Regions from separate parts of the Homo sapiens genome. Here region 2 is linked to region 1. Evidence: promoter capture Hi-C in human tissues and cell types (Jung and others, 2019). All regions are on one chromosome and are shown on one strand. The core of a region is centred on a gene start or on the middle of the fragment in contact, and the rest is flanking DNA. Distances in the headings are between cores, read along the strand shown. Region 1 holds the start of SH3PXD2A (SH3 and PX domains 2A). Region 2 overlaps ARL3 (ARF like GTPase 3).

What was found. The method cuts DNA at HindIII sites, captures the fragments that hold promoters and counts their contacts. A contact is called where the count stands out against the background at its distance.
Region 2: a fragment that was not itself captured here is called in contact with the fragment with the promoter of SH3PXD2A in region 1 in 1 of the 25 tissues and cell types used here (hippocampus).

Annotation. Positions count from the first base shown.
Region 1 is chr10:103,853,403-103,857,366 of GRCh38, forward strand. SH3PXD2A (SH3 and PX domains 2A) reads right to left here and starts at 2,174. Exons shown (of 15, transcript NM_001394015.1): 1 at 1,793-2,174. The coding sequence starts at 1,864. The HindIII fragment of the contact is 10,601 bases long and covers 1-3,964 here.
Region 2 is chr10:102,691,819-102,695,782 of GRCh38, forward strand. The region is part of intron 3 of ARL3 (ARF like GTPase 3); the gene reads right to left. Among named protein-coding and RNA genes, the nearest start is that of ARL3, 21 kb to the right of the region's middle. The HindIII fragment of the contact is 6,261 bases long and covers 1-3,964 here.

The sequences.
Region 1 (3,964 bases), core at 924-3,423:
GATGATCTCATTTAATTCTCCCAACAAGTACATACTATTATTATCCTTACTTGAAATTGAGTAAACTGAGGCTGGGGGAGGTTTAAATAACTTGCCAAGGTGGCACAGCTAGTTACTGGCTGCATGCCAGGCTTTGAGCAAGACCGTCTAACTTCAGAACCCCAGCACGCAATCTTGCCTTTCAATCCTGTCTGCAGTGGGCCCCGGTTCTAGTTTGTTACCAGTGTGTCCTGCATCTGCAACCTTGGGCACCATCGGTGGGAGCTGAAATGTGATGTTTCATTTAAAATCCAGAGTTGGAAACGCACCTGCCTGGGTCTCAGAGCAGAGTGCCATCTGTTGAATGCAGTGCCAAGCTCAGCTGAGGACTACAAATGAGAACCCTTAAAACTTAGCCTGCAACATTTGAGAAAAATAAACCCTGGGATATACAAAGGGACATCTGTCCACAGAGCAGGTTGACCACCTGGTGACCCAAGCCCTCCAAAAAGAGCTTTCTTGTAACAGCAGCAGAAAATGCTTGCTGGACCAGATGACACAAAAGAAACAACTCTCTAAGGGTGTCAGGGACTGGACCCGACAGGCACCCACCTCCCTGCCTAGTCAACCTGCCTCCACATTTACCTCCTCCCCATATGAGCCCAGCCGCATTTGCTCAGCTGTAAAGAAACTCAAAGTTCAGAGCTACACTGGTGACAAAGGCAAAAAGAGTAGCCCGAGGCTGACATTGCCACAAACCCCAGTCCCTTTGCAACAGTGGAAGAAAAGGCACTTCAGAGATCAATGTACAATCCAGGGCAGCAACCAGCGCCTGTTTTAACTGTTAAGATTAATGCTTTGAGCACTGGAACTGCTCCTCTAAATACCCAATTTGCAAATAACATGCAGTCCTCTGTGCTTGGGTCTCTTCTATCTCAAGTACAGGAGCACAGACGCTCAGAGGGGTCAAGGACACCGTGTTTACTTCCTAAGGTGTGAGGGATGGGAAGACAGGACCGGCTGAGATGAAAGGGGAACTGTCACATAGGCTCTGGAGCTGCCCCAGTCAACCTTAACCCCTTCTCATTAAAGTTTGGGGGAGGAAGGGGGAGGGGCGGTTCCTCGGAGACCACAGCAAACATTCGCCTCCTCGTGTCTGGAGATGGAGCATCACTTAAGAGGAAATGAACCCGGTTAAGGGTCACGTCCAGAGGAGGGATAAAAGGAAAAGCCACAATTCTCCTCACACCGACGGACACAATGGCTTTATGAGGGAAATCAAAGCTTAGCGCGGAGGGTGGAGGTTGGGCAAGGGGGCGGCGGCTTCCTTCTGCCCCCAGCCCCAGGCCTAGGAAGGCAGAGACAGAGCTGGCGTGGGAGGCAGGGCGCGAGGCTTCCTTCTCCAGGGCGAGCTCTGAAAGCATCTCGGGCTGTGTGAGCGTGAGCGCCCAGGGCCCCTGGGGAGGGCCGAGGAGATGCGCTTTCCCGACGGGGCTGCTCTGTGAGGGGTTGACGAAAGCTCCCCCCACCATCCATCAAAGGCGGACAGATGACTTCACCGTTGTAACAGACAAGGGCAGCCACTTGCCAATTCCAATGCCAAAAAAAGAAACCGGGGGGGCGGGGGTGCGAAGGAGGAAGGACAGAAGAGGCTTCCCTGGAGATCACAGCCCTGCGAAGAAACTCCACGGCTGCTGGCTGCCCAGTGGGCGCTTAGCTTCGCGACCTCACAGCTGGGAGGGGCAAGGGGCCATCCGGGGCCCTCCCGGGACCTCGGGCCACCCCCAGCAGGGTCGGCGGGGGCTGTACTCACGTAGTGCTTGGAGGGGTTCCTCCGCTTCTCCACGTCCACCACGGTGGCATCCTGCACGCAGTAGGCGAGCATCTTCCCCCACAAAGCGAGTGGCGCCCCCGGCGGCGTCACCTTCTCATCCCGGCCGGGCTCCGGCTCCTTCTCCAGCTGCCGGGGTCCCGGGGCCGCCCGCCACCCCGGCCCGGCGCGCCGAACGCTGCCCGGACTCCCGGCGCCCACAGGTCCGGCCCAGGGACGGGGGAGGGTCCCGGAGGGCGCGCGGGCTCCGTGCGCCCCGGGGGACTCCCCGCCGGCCTGCCGCGCGCCCCTTCACTCCCGCGCGGCCGCCGCGCTGCGCTCGCCCGCTCGCTCTCTCCGCCGCCCGGTGGGTCCGGCGGGAACTGGCGGAGCAGAGGAGGGGCGGGGGTGTGTCCCGTCGGCGAGGGGACGGGGCGGGGGCCCCGGAGCCTGCTGTCAGCGTCCTGGGGAGGGGCCGGCGGCTCCCCTTCGCCGCTCTCCGGCTCGGGCTCCGGGGGGATCGGCGCTGGCGGAGGCTGTGGGCGCAGGAGGCGGAGGCAGGGCCTGGCAGGCAGGGAAGGGAAGGGAGGGAGGGGAGAGAGGGGAAGCGCGCGGGGAGGGGCTCCGGGCCGGGGGAGGGGCTCGGGGCGACGGGGAGGGGGCTGCAGCCCGGCCCCAGTGGCAGGGGCGGGCCGACGAGCCCCCACCCGAGCCCAGCGCGCAGCCAGCGGCCTGGCGCAGCACCGGGCTAGTTCGCTAGGCACAAAAACTCAGGGTGGCTTCGGGGGGAGAGGGAGCGGGGAAAGTGAGCCCCGCGCGCCCCCATCCTGGCTTTCCGCCTCGGAGCGGATTTGTGCCTTTTTGTCCCCACTTTTATGTCCCCCTACAACTTCCACCCCCAGATCTCTTTAATGAGAAGTAGTTTATTACCCGGCTGTTACTGCCCAGGCCCCCGAGGAGGAGATGGGAATGGGGAAAAGGCCAGCTTTAAATCCTTCAAGCCAGAGCCTCTTTGGACGAACCACCTGACCCTCTGCAGGTCATAAAGGGTGAATTCTCCCCGGAAAAGTGATCGATTCGTTGCCTGAGTCGTCCATCGATCTGGGCTTGTGTAACTACCCTGTGCATCATTTACCAATGACAACGTTACAGACTCTGCATAACACCACTGCCTTAAGCCCAGGGCTCCCCTGGGGACCCTCCCCAAGCTGGCGACAGGGAAAGGAGCATACAATGGTGGGAAAACCCACCCGGTTGGAGGCCAGCTCACCGTGAGCCCCAGGCTCTGGCATTCTCACCCCTCCCTCTAGTCTGGAAAACCCACTTTCCAAGCCACTTGTCCGTGGTCCCTGGACTTGGAGCACAGTTACTACTTAATTCAATGTAGCTTCCCCCCTTCTAGTTCAACATTTTTTTCCCATTCTGCTTTCAAACATTTAAAGGGTAGTGTTTTCACAACTACTCCAGTTGTTACACAATCACAATAAAGCTTTGTGACTGTGGACCAATGTGAAACATCTGAAAAGAGGACAAATAATTTTGTGACCTAATTGCATTAATACTTTCTTCTGCGCGTTCTCTAGACTGTCAGAACCCAGGCACAGATCTAAGGCTTTATTTATTCACATATTTGCTCCATACAGAGTAACCCACTATTCCTCCAACCTTCCTGGGGAAGGGCGCTAGGACACCAAACGATGGCACGGGACAAAGAAAAAAAAAGATGGATGGGCCTAGGGGGCTCAGACTGTGAGAGATCTTGGCACCAGGCCAGAGCTTCTTGGTCAGAGAAGATGACAGAAAACCTTTGTGAATGTTGGAGCAGGAGTCCTGGGGGAAGGTGCACCTGGTAATGTTGCTCAGCTGATGGGAAAATGGGAGGACAGGGCACTACCTCCATGAGCAAGGATTATTCCCTGAAGGGATGAGAGGTAGACCTGGAACGGGCCCTCCATATTGAGCTCCCGAACTTGGGAGGGTGCTGGCCAGCTCCAGGTCCTCTCTGATGATGGATCAAGACAGCCTGTGAGTTTGTGAGGAAGAGATTCATCATGGCTCTCGGATAACTCGTCTTCTGTGGATGGCAAAGTCTTCTGGAAGTGCTAATAAAACCTGAGAAGCCACCAGCGAGGGGAGCTGGTGTTTAGCTGTTGTGGGGGGAAGAAGAGGAGGGGG
Region 2 (3,964 bases), core at 596-3,095, 1.2 Mb before region 1:
ACTATTAAACATAGACAAATATAACCCATCCACCACCTTCACTCTAAGCTGCTACAAAACTGGCAGACAGGGCTGTGAGTCACAAGGCCTTAGAATCTAATCCCAGGGACTCAGTTCCTCCCTCATACTTGTTTAATCTCAAACAGCACTGGAAAATAATGAAAGGTTGACTCTCAATCCAAACTATTATCTTGTACTAGTGTCGAGTACAAGGATGCAGCTGGAGGAAGCTTCTCTAGTGTTGCTGTGAACCGATTTTTGCTGGATTGTACGTTAATTCCCAGGTACTCTCAGATCATGTGAATGTGGAATCCAGGGTTACATTATATTACAACCAACTTGCAGTCTGCCCTCAAGCTGTTAGAGCTTATGATTTAAAATTACCCTTACCTGGAGACCAGAAAGTTTCTGAGACCTCCTTATGGAGACTTACAATCATTAATGTCTTTATATACTTCTCTTCCTTGGGTATTTCTTTCAAGATACCTTAATCCAGCAGATGAACAGATAGGAATGTAATTTCTCTCAGCCACCTGCTTTTTCCTAACTCATGATTGAAAGAGGAAAAAGGAGTCTATAGCTTTTGAAACATGTATACACTTTTGTTTTTTTGTTGAGACGGAGTCTCGCTCTGTCACCCAGGCTGGAGTGCAGTAGTGTGATCTCGGCTCACTGCAACCTCTGCCTCCTGGGTTCAAGCGATACTCCTGCCTCAGCTTCTCGAGGAGCTGGGATTACAGGCATGTGCCACCACACCTGGCTAATTTTTATATTTTTAGCAGAGATGGGGTTTCGCCATGCTGGCCAGGCTGGCCTCGAACTCCTGACCTCAGGTGATCCACCCACCTCAGCCTCCCAAAGTGCTGGGATTACAGGTGTGAGCCCTCCGTGTCTTTTTTCTTTTTTTTGAGACAGAGTCTCGCTCTGTCACCCAGGCTGGAGTGCAGTGGCGCGATCTTGGCTCACTGCAAGCTCCATCTTCTGGGTTCATGCCATTCTCCTGCCTCAGCCTCCCTAGTAGGCTGGGACTACAGGCGCCCGCCGGCACGCCCAGCTTTTAGTAGAGACAGGGTTTCACCGTGTTAGCCAGGATGGTCTCGATCTCCTGACCTCGTGATCTGCCCGCCTTGGCCTCCCAAACTGCTGGGATTACAGGCATGAGCCACCGCACCCGGCCCCTCTGTGTCTTTTCATGACTTGATAGCTCATGTATTTTTATCATTGAACAATATTCTACTATACGGGTGTACCACAGTTTGTTTATCTATTAACCTATTGAAGGACATCTTGGATGCTTCCAGGTTTTGGCAATTAGGAATAAAGATGCCATAAACATTCCTATGCAGAATTTTGTGTGGAATATCAATTTCCAACTAACTGGGTATATATCTTGGAGTACTGCTGGACTGTATGCTAAGACTATGTTTAGCTTTGTAAGAAACTACCAACTGTCTTCCAAAGTGGGTGTACTATTTTGTATTTCCACCAGCAATGAAGAGGAGTCCCATTGCTCTACATCCGTATCAGCATTTGGTATTGTCAGTTTTTTTTTTATTTTAGCCAGTCTAGTAGGTATTAATATGTAGTACCATATTATTGCTGTTTTAATTTGTAAATCCATAATGACATATAATACTGAACATTTTTTATATGCTTATCTGTTTCTTTGATGAGGTGTCTGTTCAGATCTTTTGCCCATTTGTAAAACCAAGTTGTTTGCTTATTCTTGAGTTTTGAGTTATTTGTATATTTTAGATATAACTACTTTAACATATATGTGTTTTGCAAATATTTTCTCCCAGTCTGTGGTTTGTATTTTTATTCTCTTAGCAGTCTCTTTTGCAGAGCAGAAGTTTTATTTTATTTATTTTTTTGAGATAGAGTCTCACTCTGTCACCCAGACTGGAGTGCAGTAGTGATCACAGCTCACTGCAGACTCAACCTCCTGGGCTCAAGTGATCCTTCCACCTCAGTCTCCCGAGTAGCTGGGACTACAGGTCCACATCACCATGACTGGCTAATTTTTTTTTATTTTTTGTAGAGACAGGGTCACAGTATATTGTGCAAGCTGGTCTTGAACTTCTGGACTCGAAGCATCCTCCCACCTCGGCCTCCCAAAGGGCTGAGATTACAGACATGAGCCACCAAATCCAGCTTCCAGAAGTTTTATTTTTATTTATTTTTTTTGAGATGGATTCTTGCTCTGTCGCCCAGGCTGGAGTGCAGTGGTGTGATCTCGGCTCACTGCAAGCTCTGCCTCCCACGTTCACGCCATTCTCCTGCCTCAGCCTCCTGAGTAGCTGGGACTACAGGCGCCTGCCACCGCGCCCGGCTAATTTTTTTTGTATTTTTTGTAGAGATGGGGTTTCACCGTGTTAGCCAGGATGGTCTCGATCTCCTGACCTCGTGATCCTCCCGCCTTGGCCTCCCAAAGTGCTGGGATTACAGGCATGAGCCACCGCGCCCGGCTGCTTCCAGAAGTTTTAAATTCATTTAAGTCCAATTTATTTCTTTCATGGATTATGCTTTTTGTGTATCTAAAACCTCATCACCAAACTCAAGGTCACCTAGATGTTCTCCTATGTTGTCTTCTAGGAGTTTTATAGTGTTTGGGTTTTACATTTAGGTTTAAGATCCATTTTGTCAAGGGCTCTAGGTCGAAGGAAAAAAGAATCTATTTTAACATTTTAAGTTAAGGGGTAAGGATGGGTCTAGATTCTTTTTTTTTTGCATGTCGATGTCCCATTATTCCAGCGCCACTTGCTGAAAAGATTATCCTTCCTCCCTTGAACTGTCATGTTCTTTTGTCAGAGAGAGTGGGCCATATTCATGTAAGCCTATTTTGGGGCTCTCTATTCTGTTCTGTTGATCAATTTGTCTACTCTTTCTCTAATGTATGCTGTCTTCTTTTTTTTTTGAGACGGAGTTTCACACTTGTTGCCCAGGCTGGAGTGCAATGGTGCAATCTCGGCTCACTGCAACCTCTGCCTCCTGGGTTCAAGCGATTCTCCTGTCTTAGCCTCCCGAGCAGCTGGGATTACAGGTGCCTGCCACTACACCCGGCTAATTTTTGTATTTTTAATACAGATGGGGTTTCACCCCATTGGCCAGGCTGCTCTTGAACTCCTGACCTCAGGTGATCTGCCTGCCTCAGCCTCCCAAAGTGTTGGGAGTGCGGGCGTGAGCCACTGCGCCCGGCCTATGCTGTCTTGTTTACTTGCTTTACAGAGAATCTTGATGTCAGGTAGTGTCAGTCCTCTAACTTGTTCCTTTTCAGTACTATGTTAGCCATCTAAATCTTTTGCTTTTCCATATAAACATTAGAATCAGTTTGTCAATATCCCCAAAGTAACTTGCTGTGATTTTGATTGGGATTCTATTAAATCTATAAATCAAGTTGGGTATAACTGACATCTTAATAATACTGAGTTTTCCTATCCATGAGCACGGACTGTCTCTTTATTTACCTAGATCTTCTTTATGAGTTTTGCAGGTTTCTTCAAGTAGGTCCTGAATGTATTTTGTTAGATTTATGCCTAAGTGTTTCATTTTGGGGGTGCTAAATGGTATTTTGCTATTAATTTCAAATTTCAATTGTTCACTGCTGATATAAAGGAAAGCAACCGACTTGTACATATTAACCTTATATCCTGCAGCCTTGGTATGATCACTTATTAGTTCTAAGTGTTTCCTTGTTGATTTAAAATTTTTTTTTTGTTTTTGAGACTTGTTTTTTGTTTTGAGACTCTTGTTGCCCTGGCTGGAATGCAATGCCATGATCTTGGCTCACCGCAACCTCCACCTTCCGGGTTTAAGCGATTTTCCACCTGAGTAGCTTACGGGCATGTGCCGCCACGCCCAGCTAATTTTGTATTTTTAGTAGAGACGGGGTTTCTCCATGTTGGTCAAGCTGGTCTCGAACTCCTGACCTTAAGTGATCCACTTGCCTCGGCCTCCCAAAGTG